7 separate regions of the Homo sapiens genome follow, and regions 2, 3, 4, 5, 6 and 7 are each linked to region 1. Evidence: promoter capture Hi-C in 16 types of primary human blood cells and fetal thymus (Javierre and others, 2016). All regions are on one chromosome and are shown on one strand. Each heading gives the region's core, a stretch centred on a gene start or on the middle of the fragment in contact. The rest is flanking DNA. Distances are from core to core; before and after follow the strand shown. Region 1 holds the start of NUS1 (NUS1 dehydrodolichyl diphosphate synthase subunit). Region 2 overlaps MAN1A1 (mannosidase alpha class 1A member 1). Region 3 holds the start of NT5DC1 (5'-nucleotidase domain containing 1). Region 4 overlaps FAM184A (family with sequence similarity 184 member A). Region 5 holds the start of TSPYL1 (TSPY like 1). Region 6 overlaps MCM9 (minichromosome maintenance 9 homologous recombination repair factor). Region 7 has its middle 100 kb from the start of ASF1A.

Region 1 (3,533 bases), core at 709-3,208:
TCTGATTGAAAATCAAACCTGACATCCCAAACCTGAGTATTCCTCAACTTATCTCCTACCTATTCTTCAAGGTCCTGCTTAAATCCCACCTCCACTGCATGAACTTCTCAAGTTCCTTCATTCACAATTTCTCTCCTCTCTTCTCACAATAGTAATTTTACTCTCAACACTTCTTGTTATTAACCATGTCAAATATGTGAGTGTGTGCCTACCTCCTAACAAGCCTGAGAGTCCATGGAATTAAATGCAAGATTCCAAGGAATATGCCTAGCACAGTGCTTTAGGTTTGTAGCTACCCAATAAGTACTGAATTTTTGTACTTACAAAAACTCCCTATGGTGAAATTCATTCCCTCAATCAAAACATATGAGAGGACAATTCTATCAAGTACTGTGTTGGGCACTGATGATGAAGGATCACAAACCATCCCAGCCTTCCAAGACAGAAAGGGACCATTTTCTTTTCTGCCTATCCAATCTCTCACATATTTTTCATAAACCCAGTTCAAATACCACCTGACCCCCACCGCTCCCATTTGCAGTACCTATCACACAGCCCATGCCTAAGTCCTCTATAGCCTCACTGCGACTTAAGAACAGCGCCTGGAAGCTCTCTTAAAGAAACAGTGTGGTGTAACCAAAGGCAAAGATTGTGAAAAAGCACAGAATGGCTAAAATTCCAATATCCTCATTCCGATCTTTGTGGCCCCATTACGATCTTGTGGCCTTGGGCAAATCAGTTAATGTTTTTAAACCTTGGCAAGGGTATACAAATACCATCTACATTACTGCAGTATTATAACGAATAAGAGATTTTTTATTTATTTTTATTTATTTATTTACTTATTTGAGACAGAGTTTCGCTCTTGTTGCCCAGGCTGGAGTGCAGTGGCGCGATCTCGGCTCACCACAACCTCCGCCTCCCGGGTTCCAGCGATTCTCCTGCCTCAGCCTCCCTAGTAGCTGGGATTACAGGCATATGCCACCACGCCCGACTAAACTTGTATTTTTAGTAGAAACGGGGTTTCTCCATGTTAGTCAGGCTGGTCTCGAACTCCCGACCTCAGGTGATCCGTCCGCCTCGGCCTCCCAAAGTGCTGGGATTACAGGCATGAGCCACCGCGCCCGGCCAAGGGATATTTTTAAAATGTTAAAAAGCTACTGAGTCAAATCCAGAGAATTAGTAGGTGTTCAATAAAGCTGATCTCCCTTCCTCGAAAGCGCTAGCGCTGTGATTTGCAGAGAGGCCGCGGCAACTCGTGCCATGGGCACCACCCGCCAGACCAGCGGTCTAGCGGTCCAAGACGCCTCGGCCACCCCCCACCACCGCACCGGGCCTCACCTTGGTGGTCGTAGACGCTAATGTAGGAGATGCCCACGGCCATACACCACACCACGAGGCTCGCGATGTCCGAGAAGCTGGGTTCCTGCTCCACCTCGGTGATCACCAGGCCCATATGCACAGGCAGCTTCTCCAAGGAACGACCGTCCGCGCGCCAGCGCATCCGGTGGTGTGCGGCTGCCAGGCACGACCCCCCGCGCGGGTGCCGGTGGTGACGGCGGTTCCTGCCGACTGCCGGGGGCTTGCGGAGCGTGAAGCCGAGCGGCGCTAGGACCGCGGCAGAGGCGGCGCGGCAGCAGCGCCGCCAGATCCAGTTCCAGGTGCCGAACCGAACGCGGAGCCAGGAGGTGAGCGTGCGGTGCAGACAGAGCAGCGCGTGCAGCACCCGCCACACCAGCTCGTACAGCCCCGTCATACTCTTGTGGCCCTCAGACACCCCCTCTCCCTCCCGCCCACTCCCGCAGCGCGACGGCTTTTTATCCGCCCCTGCGGCCGGCGCGGGCCATCGCTCCGCGTCCCCCCGCCCCCCGAGCCCGAACCCCTTTCCACTGCCAACACCTCACCTCGCCCCCGCCGCCATCTTCCTCCTCCCTTGGCAGCCCCGCCCCCAGTAGTACATGGACAGTTCCGATTGGCCAGCGTGGAATTCTGACGCGGCTTCTGGGTCCGAGAACGTGGCCCGTTCCGGCGCAGTGAGGGAAGGCGCACGCCTGCGAACTAGCCGGGCCGATACCGCGGGCGCCCCCTGGTCGCGTGGAGGGCGATGAGCGAACGACCCGGGACTTGTCTGAATGGGACCCCAGCAAGGCACACGTGGTCTTCAATGCGATGGGCGCTTCCAGGGGACCCGGCGTCCCTTGGGTCCAGGAAGTCTTATACTGTCTCCTCTCACGGCCCCGACAGAAACGGTTTCTGAGGAGTAGAAGTGTCCTAAGTGGATTGGAAATTACAAATGCCGGAAAGAACCTAGGGATGGAAAGCAGCCCTCAGTAAGTGTTGATGCTGGGAATCCACCAGGGTTTCCAAAAGTGTCCTCAAAGGCTGGAGTGATCCTGCTACTGTCCTTTATTCAGCCTCCCGGCTGAGGCTGGGAGCGAGGCTCTTTAGCCATGTTCCTGAAACACCCCTCTACCCATGTCATTCTCATCTAAGGTATCCTTTCCTGGCTGTACATTGCTTAATAGAGGCTCTACAGCTTGGCAGTCCAGTCACTTAATTCTTTTTTTTTTTTTTTTTTTTTATTCGGCAAGACTTTGACCAACCGCCGTGGGTTAGGTTTACAGTGGGGAAAAAAAATAGAAATTGTGCCTGACTTCAATGACCGCCACTATTTGAAGCAAACTGCCCATCCAAGCCTTATCATCCCCTTTAACACCCTAATGTTTCTGTCCATGTGGACTTCGACGTGGTCCTCTAGAATGGTTTTGTACTTCCCCGCGGTAAGTCTGTACTGTCTTTGCCCTTTTTGTTCAAGCTCTTCTCCTGAATTCCTGATTCCCGACTTGGTATTGCCGACATTCCAACCCATTTCTCAAGGTTTATCCTACATGCTACATCCTCTATCATCATATATATGTGTGTGTGCAACAATAATATTTATATTATTTGCATTTATATTTATATAAGTATATATATAAAGATTAGGGAGGTATTACAAAAATGCAACTGTACACATACACACGTATACACACATATTTACACACGTGTGTGTGTGTAAACAGTTGCGTTTTTGTAATACCTACCTATTCTTTGTTCGCTAAAGCCTCTTTTTCCCCCTGGGAAACATCTGTTCACGTCTTGGCTATGTGACTTAATTTTTCTAACATTGTCACTTTTTCAACTAGTCTCATTTTGGTTTCTAAGACTCATTTAACTTTACTTTAAAAGTTGAATCTCATGTCCATCTCCCTTTCGCAGTGCAATTTTCCTCCCTTTGGCAGTGCAGCCTGAAGAACTGAGGGCTGGGCACCAGGCACACCCTTCACACACTTCTTTCTCTCCAGGTCTCCTCTGCGGTAGCTCCTCTGATGATGGACAAAGAAGGAGAGGCGAAAGGCCATGATCAGGGAAGCCTACAGTCTTCTTCCTCACTGCCCATTGCTGTAGTTTATGCAGCTACATGATGCTTGTTAAGGAAGCTCCCTAGACACCAGTGTCCCATTGAGATTTGGCCACGTATTCTGCAGACCCCA
Region 2 (3,533 bases), core at 334-2,833, 1.6 Mb before region 1:
TCTGTTTAAAAAAAAGTCTGTTTTAGAAAACATACACACACAAAAGAAAGGATAAAAGGGAAATACTTGTGCCCTACAATTCTCCTCTTGCTAACTGAAGAATGGGGCTTGACTCTAGGGATAGCTTGTTTCAAAAAAAAAAAAAAAGAATAATAATAATAAAAAAATGTAATTTAAAAAGGTAACTATATCTGACTTTGCTCATTTTAATGAAATTCAAGCTAATTCATTTTCATCGATCACTAAATAATTAGTAACTTTATTAACTACTAGTAATACTAGTGATAACCTCATAGTATTTGTAAAGTTTAAAAAAGGAATCTAAAAGAAAAAGCTTAGTCTTTATAAGGTTGACAAATCTATAAACAAATCTTTTAAAGATAGCACATTTCAATTTTAAAAATCATTTTGTCACTGCTGCAAAAATTAAAATGTGAAAATTTGAAGTTGTGGAATGATATATGTATGAGTTAGAATGTTTGGGCTTACCTTTTTATTACAAGTATTAAAAAAAAACTTTTGAGATTAGACATTACATGAAAATAGTATTTGTTTTCTATGGCACACTTTTTTAGCTCTCCTTAGGATATTAAGGGAGCATCTGTGATATCCCAGCAAGGAATACCTTTTTTTGGCTGGGCATGGTGGCTCACTCCTGTAATCCCAGCATTTTGGGAGGCCAAGGTGGGCAGATCACCTGAGCTCAGGAGTTCGAGACCAGCCTGGCTAACATGGCGAAACCCCGTCTCTACTAAAAATACAAAAATTAGCCAGGCACCTGTAATTCCAGCTGCTCAGGAGGCTGAGGCAGGACAATCGCTTGAACGCGGGAGGTGGAGATTGCAGTGAGCCAAGATCGCGCCACTGCATTCCAGCCTGGGCAACAAGAGCAAAACTCCATCTCAAAAAAAAAAAAAAAAAAACCCACAAAAATGAATATCTTTTTCTCTTGATCACTAAAGATCTGTAGTTGCTGATGCTTCCCATGTTGGGAAAGCCCTGTAAGATCTTGGCCTGGGGACCAAGTGAGGGAGATCACCTGTCACCACAGGCCTGCAAGGGGTCACTTGCTGGCCTCACATTGACCACAGAGGTCTTAGCACAGCTAATCTAATGAATTCAAAGTTTCCGTGTTAATTAAAAATCTGCCGAATAAACAGACCAAAAACCCTGAGGTTAAACCTTTAAACACAAAGTGACAACTTCTGAACTCAGTGACAGCTTCTGCCTGGAGACCATAGTCATCAACCACAAGACAGATATTTTTGATAAGGAAATAACTACAAATGGTAGACCCTAAGCTGATGCCAAACTGTTCTATGTAAGGAAAGTGTTCTCAGCAATAGTGCTTCCTTCCAAAAAGGAATGGACTAGATATTCACCTATGAATAAGCCCTTTTCTGACCTCTAACTTTTGAGTTGCTAAATTATAATCCCTTAGAATGTTTTAGAGAAATGGACTTATATTTTGGTCAAGTATTTCTTTATTCTTTTTCTTTTCCCCTGTACCCTCTGCCATTTGGTAACAGCACAAGAGTTTTTATAAAATAATGTCAAAATTTGGCCATAAAAAAAGAGAACCATTAAATGCATATGATCCAATTTTTTTAGCTAGAACTGGAAACACTGGGTTTTCCTTAGGAGAACGAGATACTTCTTAGAAACAGAACAATCTGTCCATTACAAGTAGTGATTACTAGAATTCTCATTTTTTAAAACTGGCTTTATCAGTCATTCTGACTCTTTTTCTAAAGAAATTGCTATTGCTAACCACGCTTTCATTTCACTGGGGAATTAATGCTCAGTGGCACATTAGAATTCATGCAATAGCATTAAATAATTACTGTTTCTTTATATATCTCCTGCCAACTTAGAAGTACATTAAAATTGGCTGTAGGAGAATTCAGGACACCTCAATCTGAAGAAAATCCCCATCCATATATATATATTCTCCACTCAGTAGATAAGAGGCAACCTCGAGTACCTGGCAACAAACGAATTGCACACATAGCAACAAGAAGTCGAGTAATACAGAAAGAGGAAAGAGAAGCTGGTCCACATTAGCTCCCGTGGTGGTAGTAAACTTCAGAAAATATCAGAGCTGTAGACAGCAGCTTGGCATGAGGAGAGGAATTCATGGTTTTCCATAAATCTAGTGACAGGCCAGGTCGAATAGGACAACACCATCTTGTCTGCCCCAGTAGCATACAGGGCAGGAGGAGAAAAGTTAGGTACAGAGCTGGAGCTGAGAGCCGAAGTGGAGGAGGAGGAAGGCTGTGAGAATTGAAGGATGTAGGGCAGGCAAGGAAAGGTGGTGCTGTGAGGGTCTTCAGTTGAGCCAGCTCCCAGTCCTGATTCGGCATGTGTCATTTTGGTGCCAGGCCTGGCCACAGCTTCTCAGACCCCAGATAGAGCTGCCTTCTGTGCATGGAGGAGCAGGAGGGCTCAGAGGCCTCAGATGACTGTCTGAGGTTTGCAAGCAGCAAAAAAGTGAGGGCTCTGTTCAGTGTATAGTGGAGAAAATCAGCGTGAGAGAGTTTCCAGCCTTGCTCTTCTCTACACTACCTTGGGCCTCAGCTTCATATGTAAAACAGGGATAATAATACCCCAGAGAGGGTGTTGTAAGGATTGGATGTGTTAAATTATATCAAATTCCCCTCACAGTGCAGTGTGGTAGCTGTTTGACAAAGTTAATTCACTTCCTCCTTTACAGCCTCGGCCTCCATAACCCATGATGACGACAGCTCCTACAGTTTGATTTGTAGAACAAAATAATACTTCTAAAATGTGAAACTACTGCTCATCCAGTGAAAGAATTGTTGAGAAGCTTACACATAATGCTTTATGCACCTCAGATCTCAAAGACTTTTGCTAATTTGTGGCAAAGAGATAGCACATATGTTGCTACCAGAGCAGTCCGGGAAGCTGGCCCTGAAGGGCAGCCTATGCTAGAAGTGGAATAGAAGCTCCTCACAGAGCTATGGGAACCAGGGCTGGTGGGAAGCCACATGCCCACAGACCTAAAAACAGAGTGGTTAGTTCTAGACGCGTGCCTGTAAAGTAGAGGTTGCAGTGCAAACTGCTGGGCTGTGGGCTAACTGTGGCTCACGGATTTTTTTTTTTAACCCTTAGCCAGCGTAGTTTTGATTTTTTTTTTTTTTTTAAATAGCTTTAGTGAGGGGCTTGACTCTCGTTTTGTCACGTTTCCCATTCACTTCTAGTTGCCCTAGACCTGGTGGTTCTGTTCCTGTCTGGCCCTTCAAATGTTCTGACCCCTTTTTCGAGCCTACCACAGAACAGGGCACAAACCAGAGAGCAGACAGTGGACTCAGAACCAGGAACTGAATGTGTCCTATCCCATTGTCCTAGGGTTGCCAGATGAAATATAGCACTTTCAGTTAAATTTGAATTTCAGATAAACAACTTTTTTTTTTTTTAGTATAAGTAGGTTCTGTGTAATATTTCCATTTCCTAAATCTGGCAGTACTGCTTTATTCCCATTTATAATTCTCATCCTCGCAACCGTAGCTACT
Region 3 (3,533 bases), core at 362-2,861, 1.6 Mb after region 1:
CATGTATCAAAGACCTAGGGGAAGCAGTGGCCAAAGAATCAAGCAGTAAAAAAGCCTTCTTAATTCTCAATGTGACTAAGGAAACCAGACCTGTAAGGTAAGAAAGCAGGAAAGTGTAACAGCAGAAAAAGGACATTTAAAAAAAAATTTAGCATCTGGGCATAGAAAACACACGAGAAATTCGGGCAGCCACTCTTTTTTGACCTTTAACGTGTACCTGAACTGGTGGGTGCAGGAACTGGCGGGTGCCCATAATGGGGCACAACCCTGGCTGATGTCTGCACCAGTGATCTAGAGTTCTACCCATAAACTGTGAGGTTTCCAAATAGTTTGGGTGGTAACCATAAAAGCAAACACTTGTCTTTGCCAAGGTACTATTCTAAGCATTATACATCTCTTACTCATTTAATCCTTGCAACAATCTTGTGAGGTAAATCCAATTATTAGCTCCATTTTACAGATGGGGAAACTGAGAAGCAGCACAGGTTAAGTAACTTCCTCGAAGTCACAGAGCTAGTAACAGTGGAGCTGGTGTCCTAAGCTAGGCAGTCTGGCTGAGGAGTCCTCGCTTTCACCACTGTACTCATAACCAGCTCTTTTTCTGTCTGGATGCTTAGATCTTGGACTAAAAAAATCTGGTAACTTTTCAAAATTAGTTTCCTTGGGAATTGGGAAACCAAAGGAATAGTGGAGGGAGGGCAATTAATTTGAGTGTACAGGTCTGGAAGCATGCATACTCCATGTCCCCCTCCCTCAGGGCACAGTGAGGACCCAAACTTCGCAGACTGTTGGTAGGACTGGAATGTATTCAAAGTGCACGGAGCACGTAGTCGATGCGCAATAAATATGTATTTTCTTCTCTTGATAGAAGGTAAAACTAGGGCTAAGATCTTAATGACTTTTCAACTAGTGTTCCTTTCAATACACTACACTATATACTACGCATCTCTCCCAGATTGCAGTTTAAACACTGATGGGTGGTTGATCGTGCAAACAGAAAAATGCAGCCAAAAAAAATGCAAGTACCAAATCAAGTGGCTGTGTCCACAATCAGCTGGTGTCCAGAAAGACATGCAGAGAAAGTTCCACGACGTGAGATCTTCAAGGACAGCCCTAGTCCCCCTGACCCCGCCCCTCCTCGGCCCTAGAAATCACCGATTCCCCAGCCCGGTCTTGCGCAGTTTGCCCCTCCTTCGTTCTTCCCTATCCCTCTCAACATTAGCTAATGGCTGAGGTAAATGTGCCGGTCCCCACGGCACCGGCGCGGAGCGGAGGCTGCACACTTCCGCCCCTTCTCGCCGCTGGAGGCCGCGCTCTGCGGCAAGACTCGGCCGCCGCAGGCCCCGGGCAGCGTCCGCCGTTGCCCAAACCTGGAGGAAACTCAAGCCCCAGCCGCCATGGAGGTTGCGCGCAGTGCGCCCCGGAGCCCGCGCCACTCACCGGGGCGCTCTCGGGCAGGTTGTAGCGACACAGAGTGTGGTCCAGGTCGAATCCGACCACGTCGCAGGCGGCCAGGGAGAAGTGCTGAGCCATGGCTGCGCGGGGAGCACCAGGGAGCGCCTCGGCCGCGAAGGGTGCAAGGAGCTGGCTGGCGGGACGCTGCGGGACAGGACCGGGCCGGACGCGGCGGGGCGGGGCTGCGGCTGCCAGGGCACACGGCGCGGCAGCCTCTCCCGCCTCCCGCGCCCTCGAGCACCGCCCCTCGATACGCTTAGCCCCCGCCCCTCGCGCGGCGGGCGTCCTGCGCCGCCCGGAGTCAGGTAGTCAGCTCGCGTCCTCCTGGTACCCCAATGCCGGCGACTCCTGATCTGTTCCGCAAGCCTAGGAGCCCAGAAGGCAGTAGGGGTCCAGGAGCGGTGCCGCTGCTGCACAGCTGAGACCTGTAGGCACGTAGCCTTTCCCGAGGGCTACCACAAAATTAACCGGGACACTCCATCGCCTCAGGGCGCCTCGGAAACCAGGAGATCATGAGGTTAGACCTGACCTTTTACCCCTGTGTGAGGAATAGTAAGATCATAGAAAAAATTCATCCGCTAATATCCCTCTGACCCAGTTAGCCTACAATTTGGAAGGTCTTTTCACCCACGTGATCTTTGATAGTGGTTTAAACCAAAAACTTTATATTCCTTGGTTTCCTAAGTGGTTAAGTGGAAGACAGACCTTTCACTATTTCATACCCTGGAGTGCGTTAGAAAATAAATGTATCAGACATCGTGAAGAACCATTTTGCAAGATGATACTTGTTATGGAAACCAATATTGGTTATTACTTGATAATCCTATTTTGTTATTGTAATGAATTTTTTATGAAAGGGCATCAGAAACTTCATAGAAATATATAGAGCATACTACAAAAAACTTTTGCAAACCGGGTTTAAGGTTTATAGAGCACAAAATGTTTTGAGTGACATTTGCTTAATTCTCTCAAGAACTGTATAACTACTACCATTTTAGATGCAGAGAAAGTTAATCCATTACATACAATGTATGCCTTAGGGCATTTAATTCTCTTCCTGATTTCCGGATGTGAAGGACTAGCACTTTGAGATCTTTATTACATAGTACCTCATTTTAAAAAGAAAATACAAATCTATTATGTTTACACTGCTTCAGTTCTCAATTTAAAGGAACAATGTGTCTAATGGGACAAATCAATAGTCGTGACATAATGAAAATATAATTGATTGAGAACTGCATTTAACCCTTTCAAATACTAATCCTTCTGAGGCTAATAGACCAATCAGAGGATTAATTTAGTGCAATAGATAGTACAATTGAGTAGGAGGACACTTATACCTAGTAGACCCATTTGAATAAAATTGATAACTTGTTCCATTATAACACTTAAAAGCCCCAAACAAATCTCTCTGGAATAGGAAAAGTAAAGAATCTTCAAGAAGATTAAGCTGTTCACTGATGAGTCCAACAATCATGTTTTCAATGTCTGTGAACCAAAAGAGAAAAGGCTGGATTGTTGGAGAGGCTGGAAAAAGCTTGTTGGCCCTGGAGCATTGACCTTGGCATTCTCCTCTGCACCTTGCAATAGAATGCTACCAAAGTCAAACTTCCAGGTGCATGCCACATTGAAGGGCACATGTTTCCTTGGGGAATATCTTGTTTCATGTGGGAGTAGGTGCTTTAGGTACTTTAGGGACTTCCCTTAGTAATACAAATGTACTAGTACATTCATTGTAAGAGGGAAGAGTATAAAAGGATTGTTTTTTGTTGACTTAGCAAAAACTTCTCCTTACAAAACCTCTTGAGTGTGCTGAATTGTGAACAGGAAATTGACTTGGGGTAAGGGGAGAGAGGGAACCAGGGCACTCTTAAAGAGAAAAAGACCCCTGGGTCGATAACCAAGTGGTCCTGGGACTGGATCTGGCTATTACATGCACATCAACAATCTTATGTACTTGCTGATTAACAAATTATATATATTCTGCATGTTTGCACAAACAGTTCTTGTGCTAGAGAGTCCACATCATTTAAACTTTGTGGGAGAATTTTGCAAATGATCCAATCCTAGAGGCTTGT
Region 4 (3,533 bases), core at 370-2,869, 1.4 Mb before region 1:
TGCATTGTGGTAGAATGTTCTGAAAATACATTGTGCATGTTTCAAAGGTTTGGCTGGCTATGAAAGGATAAGCATGAAAAGTAATAAAGATTATAATTTTGCCCATAGCAAAGCTCAATATATTTTTAATTAAAAAGCAGTCTTTGCTGTATGCATATTTGTTCATATCCTATTTCCTAAGAGCCTAACATAGCTGCCTTCTCATGGTAAGGAGAACACCAGTTCTTTAAGCACCTTTTATGTAAGGGAGACTTTGGAAAATGTTACAGATACAGCAGGGAGCAAGACACAGTCCCTGCCTTTTAAAGGAAGTCTAGCATATTTGGGTCACTCGTGTCAAGTTTTAAGAATTAATATTAGATTCTTGAGCTACATTATGGCAAGTTTCTGCAAATGTTAATGGCTGAACTATCTCAAGATAGGCAGTGAAGCTGGATGGATTCAATTATGTTTTATAAGACCACATTTGTATACTTCTGTGCTCTCCACTGTGTTGACTTTTCAGGATATCAGGTTGAAAAGCAGGCCTTGTGGGATGTAATTATAAAAGCTTTTTTTTTGTCACTTTCAAATTACTTTTTTTCCCTTTTTGTCTCTTTCAATTTACTCTTTGAGACTGGTTCATCCTCTTTCATGGGTTAACTTAATTTTTCTGGTTGCTTTTAGATAATACAAATCATCCTTCAGTAACAAAGTCACAAAAGTCTCAATTTGATTATTAAAATTAAAATGCCCAGTACCAACAAGTAAAAACTGCAGACCAAGCCTGAAATAAAGATGAAGCTTCTCCCTTAACTGGTCTCTTGCTCTGTCTCTTGCAAGGGGGAAACCAGTAACTAGGGAAGGGGGTATTATTGCCTTTTTACTTCTTACCTGGTTTTTCTACTCTTCCTGCTTTGTCTTGCCAGTTCTGGTTTCTCACCCTTCCAAAGTTGGTCAAGGAAGAAGTGAAAAGAGTAAAGAGGAGCAGCAAACTTTTACTTGATTAGTGAAGAAGCTAGCTGGTGATCTAGTTTCAGTGCTTTTGTAGCCGTTGCAGATGTTTAAAGCTTATTCTTTCACTGGTGAATCTTCTACCTCCCACCTCAGTGGCTCTAGATTTTCACCTCAATTCCTTGACAGTGAGAATTCCCTTATGCGCTGATTGGTTGCTTACTCCTTCCTCAGCCTCTTGGAGCTAGCAGTACCTTCACCTCCACTTTGCTGAGGTCTGTGCAAACTCTAGATACCCCTCTTGCATGGACTTGTGTGATCCCACCCCAGGTTGTTCACTCTTCCGTAGAGGCCACATAGGGAGCACTCATTCTTTGCACAAACTCTGCTAGTGGTCCCAGTTCAGCCCTCTCTCTTGTTCTCACATGCCTCTTCATGCAGCTTCTCATCATTTAGATTTTCTGGGGATTAATCAGGTACCAGGTTAGCATGTTCTTCAAAGTGCTTGAGGCACATGTCAAGTTCTTCAAGTCATTCCCTCAAAGCCTTTTTCCCTAGGCTTTAGGTGTGGGACAAGCATCTTCCACCCTTCCCCCTTGAAGACACAGGCCCCTGTTACCACAGCTCTCCCCAGGGAAATCTCTGAAACCTACTCTGTAATCTTCTTGAAGCACCACCTCACTAGTGGTGGGGGTGGAAAGTAACACATCTCAGCACTCTTCTTTAGACTGCCTCTTGACATTTTCGAGAATGTTCTGGCAGCTGCTTTGGAATGTCATTTCTATCGTCTCTGGTTCTCAGCAGAAACTTCCCTTTTAATACCTTGTTATGTTAGCTGCTTATCAAATCCCTCTTTAGTTGATTGCACTTTTGATACAGAGTCTGTTTATCACTTAACTAGTATAGACATAAGTAATATATGGTACAGTGTAAGTTCCCAAACAGCAGGAAGTAGTTTATTTTGTGTTTTCTGTGCTTAGCATCAAGTCCTCTTATTTAATACCCAGCTTATGGCTCTTCTACTAAAACTGTCCTGACCAGCTACCCTTGTTGGGCTTTCCTTGCTGTGCGTTAGCATTGATTGTTGGTACCTCTTACTTGATACTTAATAATGCAAACTTGCAAATACTGTTTATTGTGTTTATAAATATACTTTGTTTTCATAATTTGACTGTAAGGTTCTCAGCTCTAGGGACTGTATCTTTTATTACATGTAACCTTAATATGAATGGTTTGCACATAGTACCAAAGCTTAATAAGTATTTACTGAAGAAGATGGTGGTCATAATGATACAGCAAGTAATTTTGTTATACAGCAGAGAAAGACAGTACTTTTTAGGAATTGTATCTGCTACTCTTCTGGGTTAATGATAGATCATTTCAGCTGAGTTAAATTATTCCTAAATATGTAAATGTTTATTGACTGCCCTTTAAACTGCTTCAAAAAGCTATTTTATTTCTTAATGTATTTTTGATGTAAAAAATACAAATATAATGTTCTTTGTCTACATTATAAGTATTTGACACTTCAGAATGTAGGTAATTAATATACTAGTTTCTTAGCAAATATAAAAAAGCCTTGTGATCAGTCATTTTATACTAACTCTGCTTTTACTATATCCAAAACCAGAATGTGTTTATATAACACCAAAACCAGTGAATTTTTCAAATAATACTATTTTCTGTACATGAAATAAATGATTTTTCACTAATTGGTTTGTTTGAATTATCTAGATACTCTTTCATAATAATTCTATATTGCTTATGACTTGAGTCTTTGAACAAGAATGGTAAGTGGCCTCATAAAACATAGCAATTGGCTGTGTTTCACCTTAGCACTAGTACATGCCAAATGCAGCATCTCTTTTTCTTTGTTACATTGTAGCTTTGCCATGCTGTTATGCAGTGGCTTGGATGTAATCTTTTAGTCATAGTGGAGTGGTTTGGATTAATTTGTTGCATTTTACTAATGGACACAAAAGCATAGTATCCTGTTAATTAACTGGTCACAAACTTATAAAGGGACTTCCTTTAGAGTTAAAGATTTAGAGTTAAAGGTTAAAGGTTTAGGTTGGGTGCCCTGGCTCATGCCTACAGTCCCAGCACTTTGGGAGGCCAAGGCAGGCAGATCACTTGAGGCCATGAGTTCGAGACCAGCCTGGCCAACATGGTGAAATCCCGTCTTTACAAAAAATACAAAAAATTAGCTGGTGTGGTGGTGGGTGCTTGTAATCCCAGCTACTTGGGAGGCTGAGGCACAAGAATTGCTTGAACCCAGGAGGCGGAGGTTGCAGTTGAGATCATGCCACTGCACTCCAGCCTGAGTGACAGAGCAAGACTCTATCTCAAAAAAAAAAAAAAAAAAAAAAAGATTAAAGGTTTAGACTTTAGACTGTGACCAGGCTGACCCTCTCATTTTATAAGTATAGAAGGTGTGAGGGCTCGGTGCCATTTGAAGATTACTCAACCTGGACTCACATTCAGCTCTCTAGATTGGTCTAGGTGGGGGTGGCCACACTAACAGGCCTCTTTTCCCTGTGTCTACCTTCTTTCTAATATTACTTATTCAATAAGAGACCACAGAGTTATTGTTTTTCCAT
Region 5 (3,533 bases), core at 434-2,933, 1.4 Mb after region 1:
CTTTAATTTTGTCTTTCTGTGCATTTGCCTAAGTATATTTCTGGTCTTGATATTGAAAGACAGATTCAAGCTGTAATACATCACAGCTGTTGGGCAGGAACTCACGGGAAGCCATGAGCAAGGTAGAAGGGGCTGCTATTAGAAACAACTTGAGGCACCCATAGATGCAACCAAACCTTAATCCAAGGTGTATTCATTTCATATTGCTTCTGTAACAAATTACCACAAATTTAATAGCTTAAAATGCACAAATTTATTTTCTTATAGTGCTGGAGTTTAGAGGTAATAACCTCAAGGTGTTGTCATTCCTTTGGAGGCTCTAGGATTGAATCTATTTCCTTACCTTTCAAGCTTCTAGAGGCTGCCTTTATTCCTACGATCCTGGCTCCTTCCTCCATCTTCAAAGCCAGCAACATAGCGATTTCCCTTTCCTCCCTCCCACACCTATTCTCCACCATTCCTTCCCTCTCTCTGTGCTTTCGTCCTCTTATCTTCTCTGACTGACCCTCCTGCCTCCTTCTTATAAGAAATTTGTAATTCCATAGGGCCCACCTGTATAATCCAGAATCATCTTCTCATCTCCAAATCTTTAACTTAATCATATCTGCGAAGTCCCTTTGGCCGCATAACTAAGACAGGTACATCTTTGAGGGCCATCAGGCTACTACCACACAAAGCAAATTAAGTAGAAAATAACGTTTGCCTCTTTTATACCTTGAGTCCACCAGCTGCATGTTGCCCTTTGCAAGTTTGTTTTCTACTTCAAGGCCATCTTAGTTGTCCATTTTAACTAGCCTTTCCTCACAAAATGGTGGTATGTGGCTCCCCCCACTGATATTTCTCTGAGGCCTTGTAGCTCTCTAAGACAGCACCAGTTTAACTCACAAGTCAACAAACTGGAACACTTCAACCAGAGACATTGACATCCCCCTCTAATGAACTCAGCTGATTGCTAAAGACAGATGCTTCGTTAGAGCCAAACATTCCTATCTTACATAACTAAATATGATAATAAATTAAGTTCTTGGGGCTGGAAATAGTTATAATTTCCTCTTTCTTGCAGTGAAAAGGCATGGAACATTTAGCAAACTGATCCTGGCTTAATTTCTACCGATACTATGCAGCACAAACTCTTATTTGATGCAGATTATAAATCGAAAATTAGCAATGAATACTATGCATCGCTTTAGTGGTAAGAGGCTGCTGAGTAGCTTTTTTTCCCCAGTAACCGTAGAGGCAAGAATTGATATTTTTATGTCACTTTTACTAAGAAGGGGGGAAACATTTTGCTATTAATCTTAAAGAGAAGTCTTTTGCTGCTAGTTACGTGGAGTAACAGGGAATAGATTTACCTTCCTGCCTCAAAAAAGTGAAGACCAGAAAAACATTTGTTTTCAGACACTGGAGAGCAGGCACTGTTACGGCTGTGATTTTACAACTGCTCCTACATGCTGGGAGCAGTCGCTAGATGCATCTCAAGGTGGGTCGTCCGCGCTTCCAGACTCAGCACAATCGACATTTATTTACGTAGGTAAAATTACTGTTGCTATGGGTAAATTCACAGAAATAAAGCCCAGAGAATCCGGTTGGCTGGCAGGGAGCGGCGGAACCAATCCCGGGCTCAGCAAGTTCTCGCGATACCGTGAGATCTCCAGTCCTGACGACACCGCCGCTGAAATGTTAGTGAGACTGTAGGGTGGGCGGTGCGAGCGGCGGTTAGCTCCCAGTTCGGCCTCTGAGGAAAACGGGCGTTCGCCTGCGGTTGGTCCGACTGTTAGCAACATGAGCGGCCTGGATGGGGTCAAGAGGACCACTCCCCTCCAAACCCACAGCATCATTATTTCTGACCAAGTCCCGAGCGACCAGGACGCACACCAGTACCTGAGGCTCCGCGACCAAAGCGAGGCGACACAGGTGATGGCGGAGCCGGGTGAGGGAGGCTCGGAGACCGTCGCGCTCCCGCCTCCACCGCCTTCAGAGGAGGGGGGCGTACCCCAGGATGCCGCGGGCCGTGGCGGTACTCCCCAGATCCGAGTTGTTGGGGGTCGCGGTCATGTGGCGATCAAAGCCGGGCAGGAAGAGGGCCAGCCTCCCGCCGAAGGCCTGGCAGCCGCTTCTGTGGTGATGGCAGCCGACCGCAGCCTGAAAAAGGGCGTTCAGGGTGGAGAGAAGGCCCTAGAAATCTGTGGCGCCCAGAGATCCGCGTCTGAGCTGACGGCGGGGGCGGAGGCTGAGGCGGAGGAGGTGAAGACAGGAAAGTGCGCCACCGTCTCAGCAGCCGTGGCTGAGAGGGAGAGCGCTGAGGTGGTGAAGGAAGGCCTGGCGGAGAAGGAGGTAATGGAGGAGCAGATGGAGGTAGAGGAGCAGCCGCCAGAAGGTGAAGAAATAGAAGTGGCGGAGGAGGATAGATTGGAGGAGGAGGCGAGGGAGGAAGAAGGGCCCTGGCCTTTGCATGAGGCTCTCCGCATGGACCCTCTGGAGGCCATCCAGCTGGAACTGGACACTGTGAATGCTCAGGCCGACAGGGCCTTCCAACAGCTGGAGCACAAGTTTGGGCGGATGCGTCGACACTACCTGGAGCGGAGGAACTACATCATTCAGAATATCCCGGGCTTCTGGATGACTGCTTTTCGAAACCACCCCCAGTTGTCCGCCATGATTAGGGGCCAAGATGCAGAGATGTTAAGGTACATAACCAATTTAGAGGTGAAGGAACTCAGACACCCTAGAACCGGTTGCAAGTTCAAGTTCTTCTTTAGAAGAAACCCCTACTTCAGAAACAAGCTGATTGTCAAGGAATATGAGGTAAGATCCTCCGGCCGAGTGGTGTCTCTTTCTACTCCAATTATATGGCGCAGGGGGCATGAACCCCAGTCCTTCATTCGCAGAAACCAAGACCTCATCTGCAGCTTCTTCACTTGGTTTTCAGACCACAGCCTTCCAGAGTCCGACAAAATTGCTGAGATTATTAAAGAGGATCTGTGGCCAAATCCACTGCAATACTACCTGTTGCGTGAAGGAGTCCGTAGAGCCCGACGTCGCCCGCTAAGGGAGCCTGTAGAGATCCCCAGGCCCTTTGGGTTCCAGTCTGGTTAACATTTGCCCTTGGGAATACTCCTGCACAAGGTCTCCTACCACCTTCTGCTGGACCTGTGCTTGGGCATCAGCAATGAGTATGCCTTCTATTGTGCTTTGTTTTTGCTGACTTTTCTGCACCCTGTTTCCTTTGGATATTCAGTTCTCTCAACCTCAAGATTGAGACGGTGGTGGGTATGCTTCTCCACTTCCATATGACCTTCATGCTGTTCTGGAATATCACATGCTACGAGGTCATCCTTCACACTACTTGTAAGCCAAGCAAATGATACTGTAGATTGTACTGCCTTTATCTGCACTGCTTGGACCCTGTTTATTCCCAGGGCCTCTGAACTGGTTGCTGTCACTTGGATTTCTAGCTTTGGGAGCCTGTTCCACCTACTCAGCTCTGCATTGAGCAGTATGGGCACATGCCCTGTGGACAGTTACTGGACGTT
Region 6 (3,533 bases), core at 752-3,251, 1.1 Mb before region 1:
GCATTGAAAACAAATTTAGAAAATCCAATTTTTCTTAAGCATTTAAACGTTCTAAAATTCACTAATAAAATTTTCTGAAAAAATTTAAACTGTGAGTACAAATTTAGTGTGGCTGAGTCTTGAAATGATTGGCCATAATGAGTACCATTCTCTGAAGTTTGAAACACCTTAAACAGCTGATAAAAGACATATATAAACAATGATTATAAAATTTATTATTTCTGTACCTGTTTAATAATTTACCAGTATACTATGATTCTTAATATATTCCTAATCTTTCAGTTTTATTGCTTTCCTGGGTTTCAGTGTTCTTACCAGAACTAAAGGAAAAGGAATGGAAGTGGGTTTTTGACCAGCTGAATCTTGATCTGGGCGTGGTCTGATTATTTAGATGAGGATGACTCAAACCTAAGCCACAGTGTGGAGCTGACTTTTTTTAATGGTAAATTTTTAAGTCCATGTCTTATGAATTTTTGTCTTTGAAACTTGGTATCTTTTGCAGTAATTATGTATTAGGTTTTGCATGGCTGACAGTACCTAACCTATTGGCATGTCATTAGGGTATTTTGATCTGTTATGTTATTTAAAATATTTGTATTCTTTATTGGGACTTTTGGTTTTAGAGGTTTCATTTTTAGTAATGAGAGATTTAATTTTCATAGTTACCTTGTCTCTTTAGGACACTGAGTAATTCATATTTTAAATTACATGTTGAATTGTCTTTCTTCCTTGGTCATTGTGTATGACTGCCAATGCCACCTTCTACCTGGTTATAATTTGTGCCCACCATGCATCCTATTATTTTGTGCTAATCAATCCACTTTCCATTTTAGTACCTTCTGTCAAGATTTGGCCAAATTACCACTTCCATATGTTTATTCTTTGGTACTTACCCAGATAGAAATAACTACATACCTAAATATTTTAAACAGACATAATTATTAGAAGAAATAAAATACCCAATACATATTGAATATCCCTTATCTGAAATGGTTAGGCCTGGAAATGTTTTGGATTTTGGATTTTTTTGGATTTTGGAATATTTGCACTATACCTATACTTACTGGTTGAGCATCCCAAATCTGAAAATCCAAAATCCAGAATGCCCCAGTGAGCATTTCCTTTGAGCATCATGTCAGTACTCACAAAGTTTTGGATTTGGGATTTTTCGATTAGGGATATTCAACCTGTATAAACATCCTTCTTACTAAAATGTTAAACTTCTATCACAGACTGTTATGTGTTATAACTGCCTCATTGTGCTTATATTTAATGCTCAGTCTCACAGCTTGGTCAGAGTCCCTTTATGTTGACCTGAATGTCCTTTCATCATTCTGATGCTTCTATAAAAGCATCCATGCTATCCGAAAACAACAGGATGTTCCATACCCATTTTGATTTCTTCATGCTCCATGTCATGGAGTCAGCTATCCCCAAGGTACTCTGTTTCCTTTGAAGGTCAGTAGTGTTAGAGACCAAACTCTAGGCCTCAGGGTCACCTGTTCAGGAGAGTCACTAATGGGCAAAAGTTCTTCCACTGCTGTTGGGTCAAGTTTAGTAGGTTCAGAGCTGGAAAGTGTTTTGATGTCCTGAGGTCATGTTTTATCCTGCTGTGTCCTACTTTTGTTATAGACGTGATTTCATGATGACTAAAACTTTCTCTTGTATGGTCTTTAATGTGTGTATCAAGGAAGCACATGGATTGTCTTGGGGGAATATGAACAGTCTCACAGGTCACATTTCTGTTCAATAAAGAGAGGTGTAAAAAATAACCTTTGGCCGGGTGCGGTGGCTCACACCTGTAATCCCTGCAGTTTGGGAAGCTGAGGTGGGTGGATCACTTGAGGTAAGGAGTTCAAGACCAGTCTGGCCAACATGGTGAAACCCCGTCTCTACTAAAAATACAAAAATTAGCTGGGTGTGGTGGTAGGCGCCTGTAATCCCAGCTACTCGGGAGGCTGAGGCAGGAGAATCACTTGAACCTGGGAGGCGGAGGTTGCAGTGAGCCAAGATCATGCCACTGCACTCCAGCCTGGGTGACAGAGTAAGACCCTGTCTCACAAACAAACAAACAAAAAACCTTTAATTCTGAATCAAGTTGCCAAAATATTTTGATTTCAGTCCCAGTGTACTTCTTGAAAACATTTTAATAATGTAAAATTATCTAAACACAATAAAAACTATACTTAATTTTATCTGTGAGAGGGCTAAACCAGAATTTAAATTCTATTGTAACTATATGAGATAATGGAATTTTCTGATACTGTAAAAGATTAATCTTCAGTGCATATGTAGTATTCTAAAATGTATAATAGGAATTTTATTGTAATTTTTGGTGTCTTATAGAAATATGAGCAAAACAAACATATTATTCTGATATCTTTAACTCTGTGGCTTAATGCAAATTTTAAACTTTTTTGAAGGTATACCAAAACATTAAACATTTATTCTTGGTTGACAAATTTTAATTCTAACAAACTTACACATTCTGTAGGCATACTTGATTTCTGTTCCTTCTCCATGTGCTAAACCTTCTGCTTAACGGGTGGAATGCTAGAGAAAATCCTAGGTTAACTCAGAGAGCTTGCCTTTAGCCAGTTCACAATATTTAGGAGTTCAGAAACTATCCAACCTTGAATTCTAGGTCACTAGAGACTTCCTGGGACCTGGTGAACCTTTCAGATGCAACTTACCAAACAACCAGTTTCCAAACCTATTAACATCACAATGTAGGAAGCTAAGCCAGTGCTTCTTCCTCAGTGTTCAAAACCATCCTCTGAGCTTGCTTTCCTTATTAACATTCAAGAAAGATAAAAGCGCCCTGGCTCACATTAGTACCCACTCCAATTGGGGTGTTCCTGTCAGTGTTCTGTCTTGCATGTGACATAGCCCCCCAGGTATACGGGGAGCCATTACCCACACACATCCTCTTCACTGTCACTCAGAGGACATGCACAGGAAGTGGTGGCAACCGCCCCTTATGACACACTCAGTAGTTCTTGTATCTGTTCCACTGCCACATCTCTTCCTTAAAGGCTTGAAAATGCATCTAAGGGTAATATTTGTAATAAAAGTGAACTTGACAGATATTAAACTAAATTTTAAAAAATTGTGTCTGTGAATAGTCCGGTGCAAGATACAGTTTAAGGGAGGAAATGGGATATACATACTGGGCCAGGACTTACCGAGAAATGAGTAATTTCTATATCTTGTGAATGCAAATTATTTTTAGGCCACTCTTCTTTATGTTTAGTTGGAATTGCAATTCCTTGGTAGAGGTGAACCGACAGAAAGCAAGCATTTGTATCAGGTGTGTTTTTATGTGGGAACAAACTTGGTTTAACTTACAGTTTTCATGATAAGCAAAACCAATGCTGGAATATTGCTTACTATTTTGAGATCTAACTTTTTCAGTGCTCAATAATACATAGAGTGCGAGGTGGGCAGATTACTTGAGGTCAGGAGTTCAACACCAGCCTGGCCAATATAGTGAAACCCCGCCTCTACTAAAAATACAATAATTAGTGGGGTGA
Region 7 (3,533 bases), core at 628-3,127, 1.1 Mb before region 1:
AAGCTTCCCAGGCTGTAGTACTTTATTATGGCAGGCCTAGAAAACGAATTCATTCACAGACCCCCAGTTAAGAAGAAGCAGGAGGAGGAGGCAAAAAACAAATTACTCTTTTAAGTGAATTCATCTCATGTTAAAATATAAAATATGTGAGAATGTGTGCATTTCATTAGATATGGGGAGCTTAATTGAATCATCTTTTAAAAGAAATAATCGGAATTTAGTTCTATAATAAGAGTAAAATCAAGAAAGCAGGAAAAGTCTGAATTTATATTGATGTAGTACCCTTGAAGTAGTATCATAGACCGGAAACAGCAGCTTCATTAAGGCCAAAGTGTGTTTGTTAATTAGCTGTGGTCCTCTCCAGTGAGCCGACCAATAGATGCCATCAATGATGAGAGAGCATGGACTTATTGACGAAAAGATGAAGTCAGTTGGGCATTAGACACACATGTTTCCTCCGAGGGCGGCAGTACTTTCATTAATAATGAATTCTGTCTTTCCTTATGTCTTCTGAGCTTCCCACTAATGCTGGAATTATTAGTGTGAAACATGAGGCCTTCCGGTAATTATAGGCAATTCAGAGAGTCTTAAAAAGTGTGATCATGTATTCCAGGGAAAAACAATGTCCAGCATTTTTTTTTAAATAAATTTCAACTCGTGTGTTTAGTACCTTCTACATGCAAGGTGGTGAAGTGCTGGCTCTGGAGGCTTTATTGTGTTTAGGATTCTGAAAGTGCTTATGGCCTGAGGCCCTGAAGAGGTCTGTATTCTGGCCTTTTATTTTATTTTTTTGAGACATTCTGACTCTGTCACCCAGGCTGGAGGGCAGTGGTGCCATCTTGGCTCAGTGCACCCTCCCAGGTTCAAGTGATTCTCCTGCTTCAGCCTCCCGCGTAGCTGGGACTACAGGCTTGTGCCACCACACCCAGCTAATATTTTGTATTTTTAGTAGAGATGGGGTTTCCATATGTTGGTCAGGCTGGTCTTGAACTCCTGGCCTCAAGTGATCTGCCTGCCTCAGCCTCCCAAAATTCTGGGATTACAGGAGTGAGCCACCATACTTGGCCTGTATTCTGACCATTTAAAGAGAAAAATAAATTAGGGAACATCCCAGTCGTGGGTCTGAATCATTTTAACATTTAAATGCCTTGTTTGTAGATTTGAAAGAAAATCAAACTTTGACCAGCTTGTCACTTTTTGGCTTCCTGTTCCATGCTTTATAGAGCCATATGTTTCATGTTTGAAAAAGTTTAAAATCAGTCAGCTTAATTAAATGTTTCATTTTCACAGACGTTTTAGTCTCCTTTCTCTCTATACCCAGGAGCTCGTGCTCTCATTTTACCAGCTCATTTCTTATGAGCTCAGAGGGGCTAAACATACTGTGTAGACTAACATAGGATCGACATGATGTAGGGGAATTTTAACATTTTTAGAGACAATAGACAGTGGCTGGCACTCAATCCAACTTTCAATAAATGAATGGAAAGAAAAGGATGGGCAGAGAATTGCTTGAATCCAGGAGGCAGAGGTTGCAGTAAGCCGAGATTGTGCCACTGCACTCCAGCCTGGGCAACCCAGCCAGACTCTGTCTCAAAAAAAAAAACAAAAAAAAAAAAAAAAAAAAAAACCTGTCACATTTTTCACACCAAAAACAAAAACACCAAAATCACATCAACAAGAAGTAAACCTTGTTCTACAAGCCACCAAACCAACACAAACCTGATGCTTTTGGATAATGAATCTTGTCTGTCAATAAAACCGCAGTATGGCTTGGCCAAATCAGTAAGAATGAGGAGACGTGCAGTGAGGAGGATTCACATCAATCAGAAAGCGGTCCGCAGCTGCCTGGGCTGACGGGAGGGCAAGCTGTGGTTGGTTTGACTGTGTGTAGAAGATGCCAGAGACTGCTAGTAAACAGATTGAAAACTGTAAACTGTGTCTTCTTTCCTTTTGGGAACCTCTGTGGGTGCACTCTCCAAGGCCAAGCCCAGTTCCTTCCCTTGGTCTCATCACTGGTCTCTTTATTTCCCTCCTGTACAGTTCAAGAGGCCTGGGCGATGTGACCTGAACAGAATGAGGTCAGCTGAATAAGAAGAAATACACCAGTAAAGGAAGATTTGCAGATTTCTCACCCTTCACTGGGCCTTCTTGATTAGCCACAGTGACTTGGATCAATTCCGTCATTTCATGAACCGATATTTTCCATTCTCTACCCTTTCCTCTGACTCTGGTCTTCTTGCATCTCTGCCTTTCCAAATGGCTTCTCAACTATATAATTTTTACCAACTCAGCTCTAATGATAGACGAAACCAACATTAAGCTATTGAACTCATATATTTTAGCATGTGCCTACACTCTTGAAGGCAGCAATGAATAAAAATTCTGCTGGGAAAATATAGTATTATACCATGTAATGGTGAGGATGAATTTGTAAATACACTTTTGTTTTCAAATCTTCCACAACCCAAGGCACCAACAGGGCCGAGGGGTTTGGTGAATTGTGGGAAAATAGAGGTGCTTGGATATGTGTAAGTGAGTAGCTCATTTAGCAGGTGTTCCACCACCTGCTCACAGACCACAGGGAATTTCATAGCTGGTGCACATGTGGCAGCAAGGGCCACGCGACTGGAAATGAAAGTGAGTTGTCAATTTTTCTTCTCTCTCTCTTTTTTTTTTTCTTTTTCTTTTTTTTTTTTTTTTTGAGATGGAGTCTTGTTCTGTCACCAGGCTGGAGTGCCGTGGTGCAATCTTGGCTCACTGCAACCTCTGCCTCCCGGGTTCAAGTGATTCTCCTGCCTCAGCCTCCTGAGTAGCTGGCACTACAGGTACATGTCACCACACCTGGCTAATTTTTGTATTTTCAGTAGAGATGGGGTTTCAGCATGTTGGCCAGGCTGGTCTTGATCTCCTGGCCTTGTGATCTGCTCGCCTCAGCCTCCCAAAGTTCTGGGATTACAGGTGTGAGCCATCGCGCCCAGCCGAGTTGTGGATTGTTCTATATTTTCATTCAACATTTCTTCAAATGTCCTTTCCCTTTAAAGAATCATCAAAATCTCTTTCCTTTAAAGTTAACACTACAAGTAATCGAAGTCCCATTTCCTGGAAATATAGGCTGGATGGCAGCCATCCCTCAAATGAGCCCCCATGGGGAAGACTTGGAGAGTGCACTCCTAACTTAGGTTTCCGGTGGACATGTATGAAGCCCCACGGGCTGGAAGCTGAGGTCATGGATTACTCTCTCACTGCTGCTGAGTGCCAGTTCATCATGTGCTTCCTGTCATTATTCTCTTACATCATGCATAACCCTGTATCTCTTAGCCCATCTCCTCATGCACAGATTTCTAATCAGCTGTGAAAAAATACTATGAATATCTCTGCATTTAAGAAGAGATGCTAACTTTTAAAAAATAATAAAAAGAAGAGATGCTAATGGGAAAAGGGTTGAGGAACAGCTGTGGATTGGAAGTAATGGGGTCAAGTAAAATAGGGCAGCAAATCAGGAAATGGGGTAGGTGTAGGCACTGGGGAGAGGA

Evidence for each region. Contacts are between HindIII fragments. The CHiCAGO score rates a contact against its expected background, and 5 or more counts as called.
Region 2: a fragment that was not itself captured here is called in contact with the fragment with the promoter of NUS1 in region 1 in 3 of 17 cell types (total CD4 T cells, total CD8 T cells and activated CD4 T cells); the score reaches 6.6 in total CD4 T cells.
Region 3: the fragment with the promoter of NT5DC1 here is called in contact with the fragment with the promoter of NUS1 in region 1 in 2 of 17 cell types (non-activated CD4 T cells and activated CD4 T cells); the score reaches 6.4 in non-activated CD4 T cells.
Region 4: a contact is called between a fragment that was not itself captured here and the fragment with the promoter of NUS1 in region 1, in 1 of 17 cell types (non-activated CD4 T cells). The highest score is 7.8, in non-activated CD4 T cells.
Region 5: the fragment with the promoter of TSPYL1 here is called in contact with the fragment with the promoter of NUS1 in region 1 in 5 of 17 cell types (non-activated CD4 T cells, naive CD8 T cells, total CD4 T cells and 2 more); the score reaches 15.0 in non-activated CD4 T cells.
Region 6: a contact is called between a fragment that was not itself captured here and the fragment with the promoter of NUS1 in region 1, in 1 of 17 cell types (naive B cells). The highest score is 5.2, in naive B cells.
Region 7: a contact is called between a fragment that was not itself captured here and the fragment with the promoter of NUS1 in region 1, in 3 of 17 cell types (M2 macrophages, monocytes and M0 macrophages). The highest score is 7.7, in M2 macrophages.

Annotation. Positions count from the first base shown.
Region 1 is chr6:117,673,894-117,677,426 of GRCh38, reverse strand. It overlaps NUS1 (NUS1 dehydrodolichyl diphosphate synthase subunit), which reads right to left and starts at 1,958. Exons shown (of 5, transcript NM_138459.5): 1 at 1,342-1,958. The coding sequence starts at 1,756. It overlaps LOC101927919 (a long non-coding RNA gene), which reads left to right and starts at 2,143. Exons shown (of 3, transcript NR_110854.1): 1 at 2,143-2,330; 2 at 2,592-2,780; 3 at 3,345-3,533. The HindIII fragment of the contact is 6,476 bases long and covers 1-3,533 here.
Region 2 is chr6:119,313,566-119,317,098 of GRCh38, reverse strand. All of the region lies in intron 2 of MAN1A1 (mannosidase alpha class 1A member 1), which reads left to right. Among named protein-coding and RNA genes, the nearest start is that of MAN1A1, 34 kb to the left of the region's middle. The HindIII fragment of the contact is 2,493 bases long and covers 337-2,829 here.
Region 3 is chr6:116,098,931-116,102,463 of GRCh38, reverse strand. NT5DC1 (5'-nucleotidase domain containing 1) reads right to left here and starts at 1,611. Exons shown (of 12, transcript NM_152729.3): 1 at 1,441-1,611. The coding sequence starts at 1,533. It also overlaps a transcript of FRK not described here. RefSeq lists enhancers at 908-1,428, 1,429-1,951 and a silencer at 1,536-1,795. The HindIII fragment of the contact is 3,203 bases long and covers 1-2,994 here.
Region 4 is chr6:119,071,631-119,075,163 of GRCh38, reverse strand. The region is part of intron 1 of FAM184A (family with sequence similarity 184 member A); the gene reads left to right. Among named protein-coding and RNA genes, the nearest start is that of MIR548B, 4.3 kb to the right of the region's middle. The HindIII fragment of the contact is 1,135 bases long and covers 1,052-2,186 here.
Region 5 is chr6:116,278,080-116,281,612 of GRCh38, reverse strand. TSPYL1 (TSPY like 1) reads left to right here and starts at 1,683. Exons shown (of 1, transcript NM_003309.4): 1 at 1,683-3,533. The coding sequence starts at 1,783. The coding sequence ends at 3,096. It also overlaps a transcript of DSE not described here. RefSeq lists enhancers at 1,690-1,749, 1,980-2,249, 2,270-2,319. The HindIII fragment of the contact is 6,415 bases long and covers 354-3,533 here.
Region 6 is chr6:118,810,011-118,813,543 of GRCh38, reverse strand. It overlaps MCM9 (minichromosome maintenance 9 homologous recombination repair factor), which reads left to right. Exons shown (of 14, transcript NM_017696.3): 14 at 1-89. Among named protein-coding and RNA genes, the nearest start is that of ASF1A, 82 kb to the left of the region's middle. The HindIII fragment of the contact is 4,389 bases long and covers 1-3,533 here.
Region 7 is chr6:118,787,936-118,791,468 of GRCh38, reverse strand. No RefSeq gene overlaps it. Among named protein-coding and RNA genes, the nearest start is that of ASF1A, 100 kb to the left of the region's middle. The HindIII fragment of the contact is 3,743 bases long and covers 6-3,533 here.